Regions from separate parts of the Homo sapiens genome. Here region 1 is linked to region 2. Evidence: promoter capture Hi-C in 16 types of primary human blood cells and fetal thymus (Javierre and others, 2016). All regions are on one chromosome and are shown on one strand. The core of a region is centred on a gene start or on the middle of the fragment in contact, and the rest is flanking DNA. Distances in the headings are between cores, read along the strand shown. Region 1 holds the start of GSK3B (glycogen synthase kinase 3 beta). Region 2 holds the start of TOPBP1 (DNA topoisomerase II binding protein 1).

Region 1 (6,536 bases), core at 3,885-6,384, about 14 Mb after region 2:
GTAAAGAAGTATACTTCAAGTATTCAATCAACACATACTGTTTTCAATTCATTTATTCAATGTGAAAATATTTACACTCTTGTATAAAAAAGCTCTTTTCAAAAAATGTGAATGGAAATGAGGTAAAATAAATAAAATTGAAGTAGTTCAAAATAATCTAATCGGTAATAATATAGTAAACCACATGATTATACCCTTAGAAGTAAACATGTGACAAGCATGAAAAACTAAAAGGATTTGTTAGAGGCATGTGAACCAGAGCAACTCCATCTTAAACAGGAGCCGGGCAAAATGAGGGTGAAATCTATTGGGCTGCATTCCCAGATGGTCAGTTAAGGCATTCTAAGTCACAGGATGAGATAGGAGGTCAGCACAAAATACAGGTCTTAAAGACCTTGCTGATAAAACAGGTTGCAGTAAAGGAGCTGGCCAAAACCCACCAAAACCAAAATGGCGACGAGAGTGACCTCTGGTCGTCCTCACTGCTACACTCCCACCAGTGCCATGACAGTTTACAAATGTGCCATGACAGTTTAGACCCTATGTGGTCCAAAAAGGGGAGGCATGATTAATCCACTCCTTGGTTAGCATATCATCAAGAAACGACCATAAAGAATGGGCAACCAGGCCAGGTGCGGTGGCTTATGCCTGTAATCCCAGTACTTTGGGAGGCCAAGGCGGGCAGATCAACTGAGGTCGGAAGTTCAAGACCAACCTGACCAACATGGAGAAACCCTCACTCTACTAAAAACACAAAATTAGCCGGGCGTGGTGGCGCATGCCTGTAATCTCAGCTACTCGGGAGGCTGAGGCAGAATTGCTTGAACCTGGGAGGTGGAGGTTGTGGTGAGCCGAGATCACGCCATTGCACTCCAGCCTGGGCAACAAGAACGAAAACTCCATCTCAAAGGAAAAAAAAAAAAGGGCAACCAGCAGCCCTCAGGGCTGCTCTATGTAGTAGCCATTCTGTTATTCCTTCATTTTCTTAATACTTGCTTTGACTTTTGCACTGTGGGGTCACCCTGAATTCTTTCTTGTGTGAGATCCAAGAACCCTCTCCTGGGGTCTGGATCATGACCCGTTTCCTGTAACAGATTCAAGTGTTTTTCTTTTATTTTCTATAGTATACTCCTTTAAGATGTCAAAATCAGAGTATTTATATAATTTGCCAAAGGCTTGATATGCAACTTTTCATACAACCAGTCTATTTCACAGTGACAGTGTTTCAAACACTCTCCCTCTTCTTTTTGGGTAGTCATTCATTAATTTCCCATTTGGGCACACCTCACTGGTTATAAGACACATAACCAACTATGCCACATCTTGTTACTCTGGGCATATTTTCAGCAACAGGAAAAACCACAGTGTATGTTACTTCAGAGGCTTTCCTATAATGGTAATGTCTTACATCTGCTAAAGTACCTCTCCACTGTCTACAGGACAAAGCCCAGTTTTTTTTTTTTTTTTTTCCTGTAACAAAGCTCCCTCAAACCTACCTTTTCAACCTTATCTTCCATTAGTCTTCTCTATCAGCTTTTTGTTCCAGCCAAACTGGTTTTCCCAAAGTCAGAAGAACAGAGTCACACTGTCCTTAATTGCTGTTACAGCTCCACCCACATGCAGGTTTACTAAAGAGAGGTTTTATCTGATGGGTTGAAATTGAAGTGATGGAAAGTAATTTACCTCCCCTCTTCTTTCTTCATCTTCAAATCCTACTACTCCTCCTTTAAGATCACTTTAGATTGAAGTGTCCTCCACTCACCTATTATAAATAGGAATGCATGGGCAATTTATTTTAAACTTTGTAGTAACAACCATATTAACAAATTATAGGCCAGGCATGGTGACTCACGCCAGTAATCCTAGCGTTTTGAGAAGCCATGGCACGCAGATTTTGAGCCCAGGAGTTTGAGACCAGTCTGGGCAACATGGCGAAACCCCATTTATACAAAAAATACAAAAATTAGCTGGGTGTGGTGGTGCACCCTTGTAGTCCTAGCTACTTGGGGGGCTGAGGCAGCAGGATCCCTTGAACCTGGGAGGTTGAGGCCGCAGCACTCCAGCCTGGAGGACAAAGTGAGACCCTGTCTCAAAAAAATAAATAAAAACCAAATTATGTTCTGTCTCATAACTTTTATCAATTCAAAATGTGATTTTTATAATTTATTTAACTTTTCATGTAGTTGCTTCCCTAGAGGGTAAACTCCCAAAGGACACTGATCCTCTCATCCACCTTATATCAGATGCCTAGCAGGTGTCTCAAATATAATACTTACTCACTATTGTCTAGTTTTACTATTTTAACTTATATGACAAAGGATTATCATAAAAATTTTCGTTGGAAAGCTTTGCTGAGAAATGTGAATTTTTTTTAAGAATTCCATTGTAATTAGAGGCTTCTGAGGGACATGTGAATCATAGTGAAGAAATAATATAAATGTTATTTTTTGGGCCAATTCCCCTTAAAATCAAACACAGAGGTGGGGTACAGTGGCTTACACCTGTAATCCCAGCTACTTAGGAGGCTGAGGTGGGAGGACTGCTTGAGCCCAGAAGTTCAAGGCCATAGTGAGCTATGACTGTGCTACTGCACTCCATCCTGGATAACAGTGAGATTAAAAGATAAATAAAAGTAAAAAAATAGAAATTTATTATAAAAATACTAAGCAAAGACATTTAAATATTTTCATTTATATTTAAATATGTTATTGACGAGTTATTCTAATTTGTCTTCCTTTCCAATCTTGATCCAAATGTACTTATATTTTACAGATTGGAAATATGGTAGATATACAACCTGAAGTTCTATATTTTTCAATTAGTATTGTTTCCTAAACATATTTCTGAGTTACTTTTGGTGGTTGTATTTATTTTTACTGGCTGCCTAATATGGAGTTAATACAGCATAGTTTACTTTACTCCTCTATTATCCTGTGATATTTTCCTTTATTTTCTCTTGGCCCACATCTTAGACATTACATAATTTCAAACTATCTCAAGGTCTCCAAATACCTTGTTAAACATTTCAGCCATTGCATAACCTTTTCTCTTTGCCTGGAATGTTCTTTCCTTCCTTATCCATCTGTACAACTGTACAACTATTCTTTGTCTAAACTAGTGGTTCATAAACTTTTTTTTTTTTTTTTTTTTTGAGACGGAGTTTTGCTCTTGTTGCCTTGGCTGGAGTGCAATGGTGCGATCTCAGCTCACTGCAACCTCCACCTCCTGGGTTCAAGCAATTATCCTGCCTCAGCCTCCCAAGTAACTGGTATTATAGACGCCCGCCACCACGCCCAGCTAAGTTTTAAAGTTTTAGTAGAGACGGGGTTTCACCATGATGACCAGGCTAGTCTTGAACTCCTAACCTCAGGCGATCCACCTGCCTCGGCCTCCCAAATTGCTGGGATTACAGTCATAAGCCACCACTCCTGGCTTGTCCATAAACTCTTGATCTTGAGCTAACATGATATGCACATTATAAGATACACACAGAAATAAAAAAAGGATTAAAGGTGCACTATTTTAAAGATAAATTTCAACCGGCCCGGTGTGGTGGCTTACGCCTGTAATCCTGACACTCTGTGAGGCTGAGGCAGGCAGATCACCTGAGGTCGGGAGTTCGAGACCAGCCTGACCAACATGAAGAAACCCCGTCTCTACTAAAAATACAAAAGTAGCTGGCATGGTGGCACATGCCTGTGATCCCAACTACTTGGGAGGCTGAGGCAGGAGAATCACTTGAATCGGGGAGGCGGAGGTTGCGGTGAGCCGAGATCGCGCCACTGCACTCCAGCCTGGGCAACAAGAGTGAAACTCCGTCTCAAAAATAAATAAATAAATAAAGATACATTTCAATTATTTAAGGTCCCAAACCATTTTGTTTTCACCCTCCTACTGCTATCGGGCCCCTAACAATTATTAACACTTTTTCCAATGCCTCATTGGCCAAGGGATGTTTTTAGGTTGGCCTGCAGGGTTTGAAAATTTGGTTACCAACATTTAAAAATGCAGAGATTTCACACAAAAATCCAATTTTGGGGTTTCTTTTGGGAGGAAAAAAATTGAACATCTGAGAACACTGGACCCACATTCCTGAGGGCAACAATCTGCTAGAGTTGAGCAGCTGTTCCTTTTAGTTATGGCATGGATATTCCAATTTGCCATTTTCCCTATCATTCCCCATTGTCTTACACAAGGCCAGTCTCACTCATTTGCTTTACTTGTCTGGCCTCTGTAGCCATTTGAATCTGCAAACACTATCTAGACCTTTCCTGTCTTCCATCAAAGCTTACTTTGTTCTGTCCCAAGTCCTTCATCAGTGTTTCAAAGCAAGAGCCAGGTAATCTGATCAAATATAGGTCCTTTAACATGTGCTTTCTGGAGACAGCATCTTAACAGAAAGAGATGACTCTGCAGGTAGAAATTACAGGCACCACTGGATTACAATCAGGATGGCAACTGTCTGTTCTACTTTCTCTGTTATCTTGACGTAGCCATACCTCACTGTTCTAAAGCAGACCAAAGGAACTGGTTCTATGGTAGAACAATGGACGCTGGTCTTATGTATGAAATCTTCTCAAGCTGCACTTTTATAGATCACCCTAGTTCCAAAAGATCCAAAGCTACCACGGGCTCCTCTGACCCCCCCATTTCCTCGGAGGCTTCAGGATATCCGGCCTGACGGCATTTCCCCTCACCTGCTTTCGGGGCCCGTTTTGCGCTGGGCAGTTGCGCCCAAGGAGCGCGCGCATCCAGCATGAGCTCATTTCTCATGGGCGTTTCCAGAGGCCCGGCCGGGCCGCGCACACCAAGCGCAGCAAGCCTCTGTATCAATGGCCCCCGCGGCTGGGCGGGGCGCGGCCGCCCAAAGGCGCTGCCTTTCTGGAAGCTTTGTTCCCATTTTAGCGTCTGAGAGCTTGCAGCCGGCTGGGAAGGCCCCCTTGGTCCGTCTGGCCCTTTCGGGGAAGAGGCCAACACTCGGCACACGCGATCCACGGCAGAGGGGAGCCTTGGGCGCGCAGAATTGGCTGCGCCCCGCCGAGAGCCTCCTGTGGGTGGGGAGAGCCCCTCCACCCCTCTGCTCGCTTGAGCGCTCAGAGCCCAGGGCCGCCGACCGCAGCACTTTCCGATTTGCTGCACCGAGGGCCCGCGGTCCCTGTGTGCGGTTTCCACCGTTGTTGGAGGCGGCCGCAGGCGAACCGTCGGGTCGTCAGCCACGACCCGAGTCAGGCATCTCCCCGCTCCTGGGACCGGGGCCGAAGGCCAATCACACTGCAGCTAGGTCTTGCGATTGGACGGCAGTGAGAGCCGATTGGCCGCCGCCGCGAGTTTCGGGCTCCCTCCCTCTCCCTTTTGCCCCAACTCCAGCGCCTAAGCTTCAGGCCAATGAGACAGCGCTTTATAGACGCCCTCCCTTCGCTTTCTTCTCCCCACCTTGGAGAGGGAGGGGAAGTCCTGACTGGCCAGACTGTCCTCGGAAGCCCCCTTCTCTTCACCAATCACCGAAGGAGGTACGCTCCCAGCGGAGTTTTCCAGCCAATCACAAAGCGGCGGCGGCGCCCAGCCGTGCAGTTTCACCAGCGTCTCTGGGTTTCACCGTCCTCAACTCTTCAAGCCTCTTCGTAAGGGCCGGCGACTCTGATTGGCCACTGTTGCCATTGTCGAATGTCTCCTCCAGCCAGCCACCGAACAAGGCGAATTCACCCTTTCCGTTCGGCTACCTTCGGCATTTTCCGCTCTTTGGGCGTGGCTTCCCAGCGTCACTTTCTAATTGGTTTCTCAGGCTGATCGGCTTTTTCCGGGAGGAGCCGCAAACAAACGACGTCCGTGATTGGCTCCGTTCGGGCTTCGGCTCCCAGCCGAAGCGGGCGAGCGTGGGGCTCGGCCGGCGATTCCCAGACGCCTGTTACGCGGGCGGCGGGGCGCTGGGCGGTGTAAGGCTGGGTGGGGGAGGAAGGAGGTGGAGGACGAGTAGGAGGGGGGAGGAGGAGTGGGGAAGTGCAAGGCGGCTGCGCAGACAGCGCTCCTCACACAGAGCAGCTCCTGACCCGGGCGAATGCGGGCTTGTGCCGCCGCCGCCGCCGCCGCCGCCCGGGCCAAGTGACAAAGGAAGGAAGGAAGCGAGGAGGAGCCGGCCCCGCAGCCGCTGACAGGGCTCTGGGCTGGGGCAAAGCGCGGACACTTCCTGAGCGGGCACCGAGCAGAGCCGAGGGGCGGGAGGGCGGCCGAGCTGTTGCCGCGGACGGGGGAGGGGGCCCCGAGGGACGGAAGCGGTTGCCGGGTTCCCATGTCCCCGGCGAATGGGGAACAGTCGAGGAGCCGCTGCCTGGGGTCTGAAGGGAGCTGCCTCCGCCACCGCCATGGCCGCTGGATCCAGCCGCCGCCTGCAGCTGCTCCTGGCGCAATGAGGAGAGGAGCCGCCGCCACCGCCACCGCCCGCCTCTGACTGACTCGCGACTCCGCCGCCCTCTAGTTCGCCGGGCCCCTGCCGTCAGCCCGCCGGATCCCGCGGCTTGCCGGAGCTGCAGCGTTTCCCG
Region 2 (6,115 bases), core at 859-3,358:
GTCCAGACACTACACATCAGAACCACTGCTTTATCCATTTTCCAGGAGTAGATACTAGAGACAGACCCTCTCTGCTTATCTGGAGACACAAGATGGGAGAACTTGCCCCCTAGTGGTGAACTCTTACTCTAAAGACAGGTCACTCCTCTGGTATCAAGTTCCGGCTGGGTAAAAGCTAAAGGGTGCATTTTCTTCATCTTCATTAGCAGCATCTATGAATCTCCTTCTCTTGTGAGGTCTCTACTTGGCCCAGAAATGCCAGGAATGGGCTCCCTCCCCGGTGTGGAACTTCACACAGAGATGGGCAGACAGCACGTGCCCAGGAGCAGTGTGGTGTGTCAGGAAAGGCACGGGCAAGTGACACAGTCCCTGAACTTCACTTTCCCCATCTCCATAACATGAGACAATGATACCCATCTATTATAGGGTTGCTGAAAAGAGTAAACGGGAATAGTGTGAGCAGGAGTCCCATGTTAACTGTAAAGTGCCCTAGAAATATTAATTGTTATTACAGATTCAGGTCAGATTTGCACCTTAACAATTAACTGTGGTTTCTTTTTTTTCCCACCTCTAGTGATTTTTGTTTTTTTGCTTTTAAGGCTTTCTTCACCCTTCCCCCAGCAATAGGCCTTTACCTTTGAGCCCCAGTGTTAATTGATTCTGACTCATTTCTGGTAAAAAAAAAAAAAAAAAAAAATTAATGATATTTATTAAAGCACAGTAAGACAGATTTTATTCCGGACCATCAGGATAGGTATAGCAACCATGGCAATGGGATTCTGAATTAGGAGAGAGAGAGTGGGCTCAACTCTAAATACACCATGGGCAAGTGGGAATTTATAGCCAAGGAACAAAAAGCTTGGGGTCACTGGATAAAAAATTACTAAGAAGGAACTTCAGGAGTAAAGGGGTTTCTTGCTGAAAATAGGTCAAGGTGATCAGACATCACCTTGGATGGTAGAGGATGAGGAACCTGATCAGATATTGAGGGTAGAGGGTTCTAACTGGATTTTCCAAGGAAATGCACAGATAAACCTACGAGAAGGTTGAGGAGTCTGACTAAAGTTTGGCCAAGCAAAGAATCTTTGTCACCTTCCATCGGTGTATTCAAAAACTTAAGACTCAAGCTGCTCATTACTATCTTTAGGCTCTAAAAAGAAAAGAAAAACAAAAACAATCAAGGGACATGGCATTATACTTTTACATTAGTAAATCCAAAGTCATTTTCTCAATCTCAGCAGTGAATAATAAAATGATCCTCATTAGTATAGTGGCTAGATTTTATAAAATAAGAAAAAATTTTTTTAAAAAAGAATAAAATGAAAAGAAGCAACAACGAATCAGTTTTCCGCTGGTTATCACTAAGGTTTGCAGGCCCATCTTATCCCCTCTCCCTTTGCTCTCTGCCATCTGAATCTTAGGTTCAGTCCCAGAATCTCCCCAGTACTGAGGCAGATGCAGAGAAAGAGAACGGCGATGTCCACTGAAGGGGAGGAGGAGGGGAGACCATTGAAGATCTTGACAAAGATCCCTTTGCATTAGCTGTGTAATAAGTCATCCTTTCTTCCCTTGCCATCTTGTGGCTGTGTTAGGCGGTGATTCTATTCCTGCTGTGTTGGAGGGAAACCACCCAGTCCGTAGTCAGAAGACCTGGATGCAGTATTAATTCTACCACCTACTAGCCGTGTGCCCTTGAACCCATCATTTAACTTCCTCCGTTTTTACATCTACAAAATGGAACTACCACTATTTGCCTCACGGAATTGTTTTGGATAATACCTTTTCCCGTGCATGCCTGGTATAAGACAGGTGTAAAATAAATATCTATTGAGGAAATCCTTTCTTTCCCTGGCTTTTTTAACAGTAAAGGAGTATTCCTGGCCTGTGGTCCTACCTCTTGAACCGACGGCGCTGGGCCTACTCGCAGCGGAGACTAGGCCCGCCCAGCAAAGCCCTAAACCCAAAGGGTCCGGCCCAAGCTTTCCCTGAAGCCCCACCGCCCACAGACTGCTCACCTCCACGTTTGACATTTCCGCTCTTCTGCTGCAGCTGCCGATGGCGTCACTTCCACCGGAAAAGGCAAGCGCGGCCGCGCGGTTGGCGCGAAAGTCGGTTCCCGTTCTGGGCAATTTCCGGGTTCTCCAGCGTTTGCTTTGGGGTAGGGGCGGCGCCGAGTCGGGGGAGGGGGCTGTGCGCCGGGCTGGCGCCCGACCCCAGCCACCGCCCTGCGGCCAGCGCGTCCCCCGACTCGCCGCCCGGAGACCCCGAGGCTCCAACGAGGTAAGTGAGGCGCGGAGTGGGGACACAGCTCCTCCCCAGCCCCAACTGGGGTTCGCGATGCCTTCTGTGGCCTTCAGGACCCTCTTTTCCTGTCCTGGTAACTGGCCCTGGAGCCGGCGGGTGGGCCTTTGACGCCGAGAGGACGTGGCTTCCGTGATCCCAGAGCCAGGCCTTTTCCTGGAGATGGGAACCGGAGCATCTAGCCTTATGCAGGGCCAAGACCATGCTAACTGGCTTCCATGTTTATATTTAAAATCTGTTTACTGAGGGATGAACGTACCTCGCAGGCCGTGGGTATCCGCAGGGACAGATACACTCTGTGTATCCTTAAAACAAGTGCAATTGAATGTCCATTGGCCTAAAGGGCTTAGAGCCTTCATAGCAGGGCCTTCCTCAGTGTATTCAATTCGGGTTAATTTTGCTGTCTGATTTGCAAGGATTGGTGTTGTCATCTTTTACCTTGGCTTTGTCCAAGTTCCAGGATTTCTTAGAAATGCCGTTGACGAATTCACGGGCAGAGCCAGAATGTCTGTCTTTAGGCATTCTTGTCTGCACAGAAAAATAGGTAGGTTAAACATGCAACTTTTTATCTAATGTGGTTTTGTTCTTGTTAATGGTTCCTTTATTTTGACAGTTCAGAAATGTCCAGAAATGACAAAGAACCGTTTTTTGTGAAGTTTTTAAAGTCTTCAGACAATTCCAAATGTTTTTTTAAAGCTCTCGAGGTAAGAGTTGAAAACATCTTAATACCGTGAATTCATTTTCTTGTTTTTAAGTGTTTTTGATTTGTTGGGCTTTATGTCTTAGAAGTAGATATTTCACTTTCATAATAATTTTATAGTCTACATTAATACAGATATATCATTATCACATATTTTTGAATTGATCTAAGTACATCATTATGTATTTCGGGGGGCTGGAAGTCTATTATCACATTGCTGTTTAATATGGCTGACCTACAGTTCTTGGAAATTAAGTTGCTTTCATTTGTCTCCTAGCCAGAGTGGTCCTTTGCGTGCTGTAGAAATTTGAGTCAGTTGTGTACTGGTCATACTTGAAAATTTTTTGGTTAATTGTTAAAAATTATGTTTTATTATGTACAGTATAATAATTGGATGATAGTAGGGGTGATGTAGATCCTTGCTTCTCACAGAACCCAGCAGTATCAGCATGGCCTGGAAGTTTCTTCGAAATGCAGAATCTTGGCCTCCAACCCAGACTTAGAATCTGCATTTCTAACAAGATCTTCAGTGTGCATTAAAGTTTGAGAAGCATTTGTAGCAGATTTTTTTAAACTTCATTCATTCAGCAAGTATTTATTGAAGTGTTCATGATTTGATAGGCACTTCTCTAGTACTTGGGATTTATCAGTGATGAGAACAGGCAAAGATTTCTGTTCTTTCAGAGCTTACATTCTAGCAGGAGGACATAGACACTAATCAGACATGATAAATTAGGAAGAGAAAAAAGCAAAACACGTTAAGGGGTTCCAGAGGATGTTTCTTGGGGTGGGAAGAGAAGGGGGTTATAATCTTAAATAGGGTGTGATCAGGGTAGGCTTTATGAAGAAAAAGATATTGAGTAAACGTGAAGGAGGTGAGATAGCCTTGCAGATATCTGGAGAAGAATGTTGCAGGCAGAGAGAGCAACCTTATACAGCCCCTGGGAAAGTGCCTGTAGTCTCTATCCAAGTTTAGTGTACTGTTGTGTAGTGAGTGAGGGATGGGGGAAGAGTACTAAGGAATGCGTTAGAGAATAATGGTAAAGAGGTCATGTAGGGCCTTGTGGGCCATTTTTCTCTCAGTGGAGAGCCATTGGAGGGTTGATAATCAGAAGAGTAAACATGATCTGACTTACAGTTTTAAAGGGATTACTGTATTTAACATAAGGACCTCAAAATTGGTTCAGAACATTTCTGAGTGCTTACTGGGTGTCAGGATATAGTAGCAAACAAGATACATAGAAACTTCCAGGGGAGAGAGACAAAAACTATATATATATATATAAATACGTATTTTTAAATAGAATAGACTAGAAGGGTAGAGGAAGGGTATTTGAGAAAGCCTGATTAGGATGGGCATCTCTGGGGAGGTGACATTTAAGCAGACCTGATTGAAGTGGGGGATTAAGTCAGGTGAAAACCTGGAAAAAAAGTATTCTGTGCTGCAAGATCAAGAGCAGAGCCTCTAAATGAGGTTATGGTTGGCTTGTTCCAGGGTTGGCAAGAAAGCGGGAGTGGCTGGAATAGAATAAGCAAGAGAGATGAGAAGTAGGAGGTAAAGGTGGAAAGATAGGCAGGAAACCAGACTGTGTTGTCTTGAAGGCTGTAGTAAGAAATGTGGATTTTATTCTGGGTGTGGTGTGAAGACATTAGGTTTTGAGCAGATAGTGACATGATCTGACTTGTGTTTTTGAAAAGATTATTAGCTGCTGTGTAGAGAACAGATTTAGGGCAAGGAAGGGAAAAAGAGACCACTTGGGAGCCTTCTGCAGAGGTCTAAGTGAGATGTGATGGTGGCTTTCAATAGGGAAAAGGCTGGATTTGAGATGGAATTTGAATAGGACCTAAATACAGGAGAGTAATTTCAGGTACATTCTTATTTTATTTTTTCTTTCAGTCCATAAAAGAATTCCAATCAGAAGAATATCTTCAGATTATTACAGAAGAAGAGGCATTGAAGATAAAGGAGAATGATAGATCACTTTATATCTGTGACCCTTTTAGTGGCGTTGTCTTTGATCACCTCAAAAAGGTTTGCTGACTTCTAGTGTGTACCTTTGGTAGTCTATTTTTTGGTTTATCTTTGCTTTAATGGACATACATTCTTTGCGGATTATAAAGTACTATGCAACTTATGAGTACATTGGAATTCTTTTGGTTTGGCAAGACCAGGATTGAAAGGCTAATTATGTTACAGTAGGCTTTTTTTGTTTGTTTGTTTGTTTTTGTTTTTGTTTTTTGGAGACAGAGTCTTGTTCTGTTGCCCAGGCTTTAGTGCAGTGGCACAAGCTCAGCCCACTGCAACTTCTGCTTCCTTGGTTCAAGTGATTCTTGTGCCTTAGCCTCCTGAGTAGCTGGGATTACAGATGTATATACACACCCGGCTGATTTTTTTATTTTTAGTAGAGAAAGGGTTTCTCGATGTTGGCCAGGCTGGGCTGGTCTTGAACTCCTGCACTCAAGTGATCCTCCCACCTCAGCCTCCCAAAATATTGGGCTTATAGATGTAAGCAGTAAGGCAGTTTTCAGTGAAAGGGGCTTTTGAAGTTTATTTCTTTTCTTTTCTTTTTTTTTTTCTTTTGTTATAGGGTCTCACTCTGTCGCCCAGGCTGGAGTGCAGTGACGTGATCTCAGCTCACTGCAACCTCCGCCTCCTGGGTTCAAGCAATTCTCTTGCCTCAGCCTCCCTAGAGACTGGGACTGCAGGTGCCCGCCACTGCACCCGACTAATTTTTGTATTTTTAGTAGAGACGGGGTTTCACCATGTTGGCCAGGCTGGTCTCGAACTCCTGACCTCAGGTGATCCACCCCCGCTCGGCCTCCTCTGAAGTGCTGGCATTACAGGCGTGAGCCACTGTGCCTGGCCTGAAGTTTATTTCTTTTGATAGCTTGCATTGTTTGATTTGCTTTTGTGTGTGAGTGTTTAATGTATAGTATCTCTGAGAAATTATATAGTCATCTTTATTTTTTTCTTGTAATGATTTGCTGATTTCTCTACAGTGGTCATCAACTTTGGTAAAGAATTGGTGAATGTTACAAAATGTAATTTTGTAAGACTGGTGGTCTTTTCCTTCTTAACTCATTTAAACTTTTCTCTTTTTTGTAGCTTGGCTG

Evidence for each region. The method cuts DNA at HindIII sites, captures the fragments that hold promoters and counts their contacts. A CHiCAGO score of 5 or more calls a contact.
Region 1: a contact is called between a fragment that was not itself captured here and the fragment with the promoter of TOPBP1 in region 2, in 1 of 17 cell types (fetal thymus). The highest score is 5.0, in fetal thymus.

What each region holds. Positions count from the first base shown.
Region 1 is chr3:120,093,940-120,100,475 of GRCh38, reverse strand. It overlaps GSK3B (glycogen synthase kinase 3 beta), which reads left to right and starts at 6,029. Exons shown (of 11, transcript NM_001146156.2): 1 at 6,029-6,536. GSK3B-DT (GSK3B divergent transcript) reads right to left here and starts at 5,372. Exons shown (of 3, transcript NR_186629.1): 1 at 4,698-5,372. RefSeq lists enhancers at 4,921-5,240, 5,520-5,814, 5,441-5,850. The HindIII fragment of the contact is 487 bases long and covers 4,891-5,377 here.
Region 2 is chr3:133,657,934-133,664,048 of GRCh38, reverse strand. TOPBP1 (DNA topoisomerase II binding protein 1) reads left to right here and starts at 2,108. Exons shown (of 28, transcript NM_007027.4): 1 at 2,108-2,280; 2 at 2,915-3,005; 3 at 4,899-5,033; 4 at 6,108-6,115. The coding sequence starts at 2,922. LOC124909487 reads right to left here and starts at 2,823. Exons shown (of 3, transcript XM_047449438.1): 1 at 2,703-2,823; 2 at 2,016-2,536; 3 at 711-1,150. The coding sequence starts at 2,823. The coding sequence ends at 1,001. It also overlaps a transcript of TF not described here. RefSeq lists an enhancer at 1,682-1,751 and a silencer at 2,152-2,321. The HindIII fragment of the contact is 9,162 bases long and covers 1,982-6,115 here.